3 separate regions of the Homo sapiens genome follow, and all the other regions are linked to region 3. Evidence: promoter capture Hi-C in human tissues and cell types (Jung and others, 2019). All regions are on one chromosome and are shown on one strand. Each heading gives the region's core, a stretch centred on a gene start or on the middle of the fragment in contact. The rest is flanking DNA. Distances are from core to core; before and after follow the strand shown.

Region 1 (3,257 bases), core at 664-3,163, 39 kb after region 3:
CCTCCCAGGTTCACGCCATTCTCCTGCCTCAGCCTCCCGTGTAGCTGGGACTACAGGTGCCCACCACTACGCCCAGCTAATTTTCTTGTATTTTTAGTAGAGACGGGGTTTCACCCTGTTAGCCAGGATGGTCTCGATCTCCTGACCTCGTGACCTGCCCATCTCGGCCTCCCAAAGTGCTGGGATTACAGGCGTGAGCCACCGCACCTGGCCTATTCCTTTACTTTCTTAATAAACTTGCGTTTACTTTGCACTGTGGACTCCGCCTGAATTCTTTCTTGCAGGAGATCCAAGAACCCTCTCTTGGGGTCTGGATCAAAACTCCCTTTCCTGTAACAGTTTGCAGGAGAATGTCTTCAAGGCCAGCAAGAAAATACTGCTTCCACTCTGGCTTCCTCTGTCTCTGACAGCTAGACTCAGACTAAAAGGACTCATATGATTAGGTCAGGCCCACTCAGAGAGCCTCCTGTTTGATTAACACAAAGTCATCTGATGAGTAACCTTAAATAGCTCTGCAAAATCCCCTTGGCCATGTAAGTTAACATAATTGTGGCAATAATATCCTACCATATTCACAGGTTCTGCCCACGCTCAAGGGAAGAGAAGTTTATAAGGCATGTATATCGGGGGTGGGAATGTTAGAATTCTGCCTACCACAGTAAAAATAGAGGAAAAAAGAAAGAACATTAAATTCAATGGCATTGTAAGAGAGTAACACAACATAGTTCCAAGAACACTAGAGCTGTAAGATTCAACATCGGAATTAGGTTAAAGGAAAAAATCAGGTAATCCTTCCAATAGATACTGAAGAAGCACTGGTAAAATCAGTAGCTATTCCTGACTTTAAAAACTCAAAGTAAAATGAGAATAGAAGGAAACAACACAATAAAGTATTTTAAAATCAGAAACTAATAACCCATCAATAGAAGAATGGTAAATAAATAACAGTGGATTTATACAATAAAATATTCTGTAACCATAAAAGGAAAACGTACTGACATGAAAATGCAATATACTAAGTAAAATAAGTAGCAGAAGATTATGCATACTATATGATCTAATTAAAAAATTTACAACAAATTAAAAATTTAAAAACAAATAAATATAAGGTTAATATAATTCAGCCACTTGACTGAAAACAAAAAGGAATATGTGGCAGCTATTGACTCAACTGTGGGGGAGGGGCTTTCACTTTTCTGTTATGAATTTCAATAATGTATGCATTTTGTTTAACTCCATTTATAATAGGGGAAATAATAAACCAACAGCAAAACATCATATAAAATAGCAAACCACATTGTGAATTCCCACAAAATTTTAGGAATAAGCAAACTCTTGATTTCTCTCCTTCTCCCCTATAACGTGCCTTCCACATCTCAATAAATATTATCCTCACTCATGCAGTTGCTCAGCCCAGATACCCGGGGGTCACCCTTGCCTTCTCTTTCTTCCTCATCTTCAGCTTCCAATCTATCAGCAGGCTCTACAACTTTTCCTGCAAATATGCACCAAAACCAGCTCTTTCTCTGTCCTCGCCCCCTCTCCAGACCTGAGGCTGCTCCTCCTGCCTGGGATCTACAGATGTCCGTAAGCTTCAAGACCTCTTGCACACTTTGGTATTCTGATTATTCTCTTTTGACCAATCTCTGGTCTCACTGATTTTCTTCAGTTGTTAACAGGCCTAACTCAGCTAGATCCTAATTTGTCAATGTATTTGATTGCGATTCTAATAGTTCTCCAAACTCATGTTCATCAATCTCATGAAATTCCAAATATTTTGAAAGATTTACCTTTTTGCTTCATAATTGATTTTCATTGTATTTCAAGAGTCTGACCAAAGTGACCCAATGCCAATGTGAAGTGAAGAATATTAAATAGTCAAATGATGACTGTTTTAATATTAAAAATTTTGCTTTCATGGGGACTGTAACTGTGGGGGTGCTGGTAAAAAATACTCAGATAAGGAGGTTTCCCCCTACCTAAGAATGCTAAGAATGAATTTAGCATAATGACACAAAATCTTCATGAAGACAAACATACATAATATTACACATTATATACATAATACCATATATATGATACATAAAGTGTTCTTTTATAAGTCAAATAAAAATATAAACAACTCTAAAACATGTGCAATGGCATGAATAGGTAGTTAAAAGAAAAAAACATAAAAGTTATGTGGAAAATATACTTATCCTCACTTTTGGTCATAGCAAAGCAGATAAAAACAAGGAGATATTAGCATTTCCTTGTTAGTTTGGCAAAAATGTTAAAGATTAATAAAACATAGTAACTGTGAGGGTATGGGGAAAACAGTTCACATTATTGGTAAGAATGTAAATTGATTCATTTTAAAAGGCAATTTGTCATGATTTGTGAACATTTTAAATGTGCATATTCTTTGATTCAGCCATTTCTTTTTTAGGAATTTGTGATACAGATATACTCCCATAAAAATGTAAAGATGCATTTAATGTAAGTCTATAAAAATATAAAAATTAGCCAGGCATGTTGGCATGTGCCTGTGGTCCCAGCTACTCCAGAGGCTGAGGTGGGAGGATCACTGGAGCCCGGGAAGTTGAGGCTGCAGTGAGCTGTGATCACACCACTGCACTCCAGCCTGGGTGACAGAGTGAGACCCTGTCTCAAAAAAAAAAAAAAAGAGGACTAAGATAATATCCATCTACAAGTTCAGGAAAGTAGTAAGGAAGCCTGCAGTCTATCAGGGCCTTGGGAAATGGGGAGGAGGGGAGGAAGCACCAATCATGTGAAACTGAAACACAAGGGCAGCATTCATGTGTTCAGGGAATCTAAGCCAATAAATTCACATAAAGTACCAATCAGAGACCACTGAAACCCTAAAAGCTTCACAGAGACAAATGCAGAACACCTCCACAGAAACACGGTCATCACCTAAGAACTCCTACAAGGAAAAAAGCCCCACTGAAGATAAGCTCATAAAATCACAAAAATTGAAACCACACAAGGAAATAATTTACTACAAGGGGAGAGCCGACAGACATTACTTAGGATCCTAATTAATGAAGATGGTAGAAAACTCTAAAGGGAATAAGTTCAAAATTATTTAAAGGAGAAAGGCAAAAATTGTAATGAAAGAACAAATGCTATAAGAAAGAGAACAAGAGGGTTTTGTTGTTGTTGTTTTGTTTTTGAGACGGGGGTGTTTTGCTCTTTTTGCCCAGGCTGGAGTGGAGTGGCGTGATCTTGGCTCACTGCAACCTCCGCCTCCCAGG
Region 2 (3,174 bases), core at 485-2,984, 59 kb before region 3:
GTTACCAAGTTAATTTGGTATTTATTTTGTCCTTTGTATTCTTATTTTTTAGGTTAAAGAATAGGAAGAAACCACAATAAAAGCTGGAATTATAAAGTCATAGAGTGGAAAGGGATTTAGAGATTATCTAGTCCAACCTTTTCATTCTGTAGATTATGCTAAATTCTTGAAAAGTCATGTAAAGTCCAGGTTATAGAAATTTTATTTACAATCTGGAAGAAACTGATAGCTAGAAAAAGAATGCTGCATACTTATTCATATTATTAATGCCTTTACTATAAATTTAAGCTTATTTAAGCTCAAAATTTTATTAACCACTCTGCTCTGAATTTATTTTAGTTAAGGATTAGAAGCATCAAACATTTTGCTGGAAAACAAAATGACATTTGGGGAAACATTCTTTCCCCTTTTGCTGTTACTGATAGCTTATTAATTCTGGCTGTAATTTTTTTGTCTTTATATACATTAATCAAAAAGACAAAGATGTTGTATAAAATAGTCATGAAAAAGATTGAGTAAATAGTTTATAGCTTTGTAGTAACTTCTGGGATAGGACACTAATATAGCTGTCAGGAAACCTTGATTTTAGTTTCCTATGTACCTTCAGTTCGTTTTTCTTAAACATTGGTATAAAAATATGGATGTAAAAGGAAGAAGGTATTTTGTAGGGTAGTTGTAAGTTCCTGAATGTGTGGAATGATTTATGTGCAAACATTGTCTTGCCTAATGGAAATAGTCATAATTGCCTAGTTTTCATTAGTCTGAAAAATGTCTTAAAGAAGTATTGGGCTCATCTTAAATCAAGAGCAACAGAAGTCTCTTCATCAGCTGCTGTTAGAACATGAGTCTGCGCAGCCATAGAGTAGGGATCTGCAGACCCTGCAAGAACAGTTCCTGTCACTGGCCACTGTCAGTGGTCATTAATAATTATAACAATGTAAGAAAACAAGATAATATAGAAGAGTCAAACTTTGAACTTTAAACAAAACATGTTTGCTACATTTTAACAGTCATAAATAGGGCAATGGGGGGGCGGGGCATAAGTTTTAGAATATGTTTTATGTCATTTAAGAATCTGACTTGCAAGTACCTGAATGGGAGAGAAGTGCTGATTATTACAAAGTAGTGGAGCAAGGAGAGTTGAGGAGTAGTTGGTTTTAAGGGGTTTGTAAAGCTGTGTTGATGTTTTGGGTAATAAAACTAGATTCGGGGTAGAAATGCTTTTTCTACCCACGTATTCATAAATTTATGTAAGAAGAAATGCTAGTAAGTGTTAATAACCTGAGAAGCTCTAGCTTTTTCCTTCCTTTTTTTGGGGTAATACCTTCATATGTTAATTTCAGATTTTTTCATGAGCAAAGATGTTCGTGAAACTTAGCCATAAACCATATTCTCTGAATATCAAGTGTCATCCCTAACATTCAGGCTTAATAACTTAATGTTTATGTGACTTACGTGCTAGCAATGTGGAAGAAATTTTTTATCTAGTAATGTTTGGTGTGTATTATCTTAACATTAGTGCTGAATTTTAGAAAGCACTTCTATTTTGGTGACTTTTGGAACACATGGGTAGAGCATTGTCAAGTGGCTTGGTTAGTTTCCATTACCCTTATACAAGTGTTGTCATTCTGTACAATTTGGTGCCTCTTCCCTGACAGTGTGATAGTTTCAGGAGTTGAAGGGAAAGCATTGCATGTTAAAAGCTAAAGTGGACAGAAGTTATCTTTATTTCCCTCTTCTGTACTACTTTACACCTACAGTCACTTATTTTTTTTTTTTGCAACATTCATTGAAAACTCCACATTATTTCAAACATTATGTTCTTTTTTGACTTATTCATGTTGTCAATGCCTTTATGATAATTTTAAGCTTATTTTTAAATATTTCAAGATTTATTACATTCAAAACTCTTATAAAGCATTTTGTTCATGGTATAATAGTATTTTGATCTGAGTAGTAATAGATTTATTTGTTTAAATATAGATAAAAATTGGTCAGTGTGTGTTCTCCAAAAAAAAATCTTGATAATGGGGAAAATCAGAGATTAGACAGGAAAAGAAGATATTGTGGCTAAGATTTGACTGCACTTACGCTTTCATCTCTCTTGCCTTTTTATTCTCTGAGAAGGTCCCTAAAATTGTAGTTAATGCTGCTTTATTATTATGTTCAGTGACTTAACTTCAATGTGTATCTAATATCACTGAACAGTAACTAGGGTCCGAACATTTGCTCATTAACTCCTGAAAGTAGTCTGTTGTGATACGTCACCAAACAAAGGTTTCAAATGTAGAAGCATGAAAGGTTCTTTAATTATTTGATGTGAATTAGTTAAAAGTTCCTTGAAATTTTATTTTGGATGATCTTAACTCACTTTTTTCTAATGAAATTTTTGCTTTCAACTGGTAGTAACTGGTCCTGGGCATTCAGATTTTTATATTTATGTATGTATGCAAGATACACTATTCTCTTTTGAGAAAATGTTGTCTTAGCTAATTTCTGGGATTTGTGAAAGGAAATGTAATATGTTAATAGCTATTATTGGCACTCTATGTTACAATATTAAGGATCTAAATAGATTCCCACTTAGCCACGATGCTTTTCTTAAGCATAATTCATCTCTACGTAAATATCCCATATGAAAGAAAATTTAGAGCCCTCCATTTAAAAAAGCTTTCTTGCTCTGCATAAAACTTGAAAATAATTAATTTCAAAGTTATATTGATATTAAAACATAGATTCAGTCTTGTCTTAAAAGTGTATTACAATTTATTTCTTGCCATTTTTGTGTAAAATTTACAGAAAGAGTGTTACACCGTGCGCTCCAAAGGTAATGTCTCATTACTCTAAGGCTCTCTCTCTCTTTGCCTTTATCTCTTTAATTCTGTTGTTATGTGCATTGAAACATTTTAAGAAAAAAAAAAACTTTCTGCTTTATCTGTATAGCAGCAGTACATGTAAAACAAGTGCATTTTATTTTTCATGGTTAATCCTGGGAACTATATTTTAACTTCAGTGGCTTGTTTCCACCAAGTTCCTGTACATCTTCTGGTGGGGGAGTGGGGTTATTAGTTTATAGTATGGTTTTAGTTCTCATTTCAGTGTGGAATTAGTCATTTCTGTATAAGGGCAAAAGGTTCTCTGATAATGGTATAAAACTATAGATTGTTTTTGGAG
Region 3 (2,819 bases), core at 320-2,819:
GGTTGCAGTGAGCTGAGATTGCGCCATTGCACTCCAGCCTGAGCAACAAGAGCGAAACTCCGTCTAAAAACAAAAGGGACAGAGAGTGATATTGCTGAGATCACAAAAGGGAGGTGACTCAGTCCTAGCCCAGCCTGCTGTCATCTCTCCTATACCCACCCCCTCCCCCACTCCCCCGCCTGACGTTATAAACAAGTGACTCAGAGGAATGATGGGGGTGTGTCTCATAATAGTTCATTCCAATGTCCTGGGGGCTAAATTTAACACACAGCTGCAGCCTCTGGCACTTTGGGAACAAGTTAATCTTGGTGACTGAGGCTGATGTGTGTGTGTGTGTGTGTGTGTGTGTGTCTGGTGGTGGGGCGGGGTGGGGAGGGTGTGGGGAGGGGTGTCAGTAGTCTAGAACAAGGTAGGCATCAAGACTGGCTGTCCTGGGCTTCAACCCTGGTCCCTCAGACCATAGACAAGGTGCAGGGGCCCCATGGCCAGGCAGTCTCAGGTCTGGCCTAATATGCACCAAGAATAGTGAGTATAGATAGCTAAAGTCCTGAAATATTAAACTTGTAGTGTTACTTTTTGAACACTAGAATTCAGAATGTCACTCCCTAGAATGTTAAAACCCCGGGGGTTTAAAAACCTAGAATAGTAGAATCCTAAGAAATTAATTTGCTAGCACATCTGACACCTTAGAAGTGTTAAAACTAATAGTGTACTCCCAGGACACAGTACCTTGGTGCTTCTAAACTTCCAGCAGAGTTGAACTGAGGTCCTTAGCATCTAACTTTGCCACCTCCTCATTGTGTAGGAAGGGAAACTGTGGCTTAACAGAGCGACATGCCCTGCCCCAGGCCTCATAGGAAAGTGGCAACCTTGTTTACCTAAGGTACCTTCTTGCTTTCTTGCAAGGAGGAGGGACAGAAAGAGGAAAAGCTCTTCCCATTTTAAAGGTGAGGCAACGGGGGTGGTGTCTTATGTCTGTAATCTCAGCTACGAGGGAGGCTGAGGCAGAAGAATGGCTTGATCCCAGGAGTTCAAGTCCAGGCTGGACAACATAGTGAGACCCTGCCTCTTAAAATAAAGGCAGGGCAACAGGGCCGCCAAAAAGTGAACACCATGTCCAACTTCTGACCAGAAAACCCAAGCACCCTGTATCCAGGGGTAGCTGGAGTGAGACATATTCCGGGGGGGAAGATGGAGGCACCAGGACAGAAGTTCCCAGAAAGCATGAAGGAAGGGAGACCCTGGAAGAGAGGCTCCAGTGCTTTCCCGTCTCTGGACTGAGGGTCAGAGCTTAGGCCACCTTCTCCCCTAGGGGCATCTCCTGACCAAAGAATCCAGAGTCAAGACCTCTCCGTGCTCCATTTAGAAATGAGGCAGCCAGGCCCTCATCTTTCAGAAGGGCCCAGACACCCCACCCCCGTCCCATAAGCCCCCGGGGCTGAGTCAAGTCTTTCTCTGGGAGGGGGCCTCTGCCCAGCTGTCCCCTGTGCGTCATGTGCAGGAGGCCAGGCGGCTCGCCTTACAGGGACCCGGCCACCTCTATATATAGCCCCTCGAAGACAGCTGCTCAGTCTAAGCAAACCCCAGCAGGAAAGCAGGGGTACAGAGAGGAGCCCCCTTGGCACCGCCACCGCACCCTAGGCCACCCACCATGGCGCTGGGCTTGGAGCAGGCGGAGGAGCAGCGGTTGTACCAGCAGACGCTCCTGCAAGACGGGCTCAAAGACATGCTGGACCATGGCAAGTTCCTCGACTGTGTGGTGCGGGCGGGCGAGCGCGAGTTCCCGTGCCATCGCCTGGTGCTGGCCGCCTGCAGCCCCTACTTCCGGGCGCGCTTTCTAGCCGAGCCGGAGCGCGCGGGCGAGCTGCACCTGGAGGAGGTGTCCCCGGACGTGGTGGCCCAGGTGCTGCACTACCTGTACACATCAGAGATCGCGCTGGATGAGGCGAGCGTGCAGGATTTGTTCGCCGCGGCACACCGCTTCCAGATCCCTTCCATCTTCACCATCTGCGTGTCCTTCCTGCAGAAGCGCCTGTGCCTCTCCAACTGCTTGGCCGTCTTCCGTCTCGGCCTCCTGCTCGACTGCGCGCGTCTCGCCGTGGCTGCCCGCGACTTCATCTGCGCTCACTTCACGCTGGTGGCGCGCGACGCTGACTTCCTCGGACTCTCGGCCGACGAGCTCATCGCCATCATCTCCAGCGACGGCCTTAACGTGGAGAAGGAGGAGGCAGTGTTCGAGGCGGTGATGCGGTGGGCGGGTAGCGGCGACGCCGAGGCGCAGGCTGAGCGCCAGCGCGCGCTGCCCACCGTCTTCGAGAGCGTGCGCTGCCGCTTGCTGCCGCGCGCCTTTCTGGAAAGCCGCGTGGAGCGCCACCCTCTCGTGCGTGCCCAGCCCGAGTTGCTGCGCAAGGTGCAGATGGTGAAGGATGCACACGAGGGCCGCATCACCACGCTGCGGAAGAAAAAGAAGGGGAAGGATGGAGCCGGGGCCAAGGAGGCTGATAAGGGCACAAGCAAAGCCAAAGCAGAGGAGGATGAGGAGGCCGAACGTATCCTTCCTGGGATCCTCAATGACACCCTGCGCTTCGGCATGTTCCTGCAGGATCTCATCTTCATGATCAGTGAGGAGGGCGCTGTGGCCTACGATCCAGCAGCCAACGAGTGCTACTGTGCTTCCCTCTCCAACCAGGTCCCCAAGAACCACGTCAGCCTGGTTACCAAGGAGAACCAGGTCTTCGTGGCTGGAGGCCTCTTCTACAACGAAGACAACAAAGAGGACCCCATGAGCGCATACTTCCTGCAGGTGCCTGACCAGCCTT

What was found. The method cuts DNA at HindIII sites, captures the fragments that hold promoters and counts their contacts. A contact is called where the count stands out against the background at its distance.
Region 1: a fragment that was not itself captured here is called in contact with the fragment with the promoter of KLHL40 in region 3 in 1 of the 25 tissues and cell types used here (dorsolateral prefrontal cortex).
Region 2: a fragment that was not itself captured here is called in contact with the fragment with the promoter of KLHL40 in region 3 in 2 of the 25 tissues and cell types used here (pancreas and spleen).

Annotation. Positions count from the first base shown.
Region 1 is chr3:42,722,884-42,726,140 of GRCh38, forward strand. The region is part of intron 13 of CCDC13 (coiled-coil domain containing 13); the gene reads right to left. Among named protein-coding and RNA genes, the nearest start is that of CCDC13-AS1, 8.1 kb to the right of the region's middle. The HindIII fragment of the contact is 3,014 bases long and covers 407-3,257 here.
Region 2 is chr3:42,624,401-42,627,574 of GRCh38, forward strand. All of the region lies in intron 6 of NKTR (natural killer cell triggering receptor), which reads left to right. The region is part of intron 1 of ZBTB47-AS1 (ZBTB47 and NKTR antisense RNA 1); the gene reads right to left. Among named protein-coding and RNA genes, the nearest start is that of NKTR, 25 kb to the left of the region's middle. The HindIII fragment of the contact is 4,741 bases long and covers 1-3,174 here.
Region 3 is chr3:42,683,968-42,686,786 of GRCh38, forward strand. KLHL40 (kelch like family member 40) reads left to right here and starts at 1,570. Exons shown (of 6, transcript NM_152393.4): 1 at 1,570-2,803. The coding sequence starts at 1,652. RefSeq lists enhancers at 1-227, 50-344. The HindIII fragment of the contact is 17,953 bases long and covers 1-2,819 here.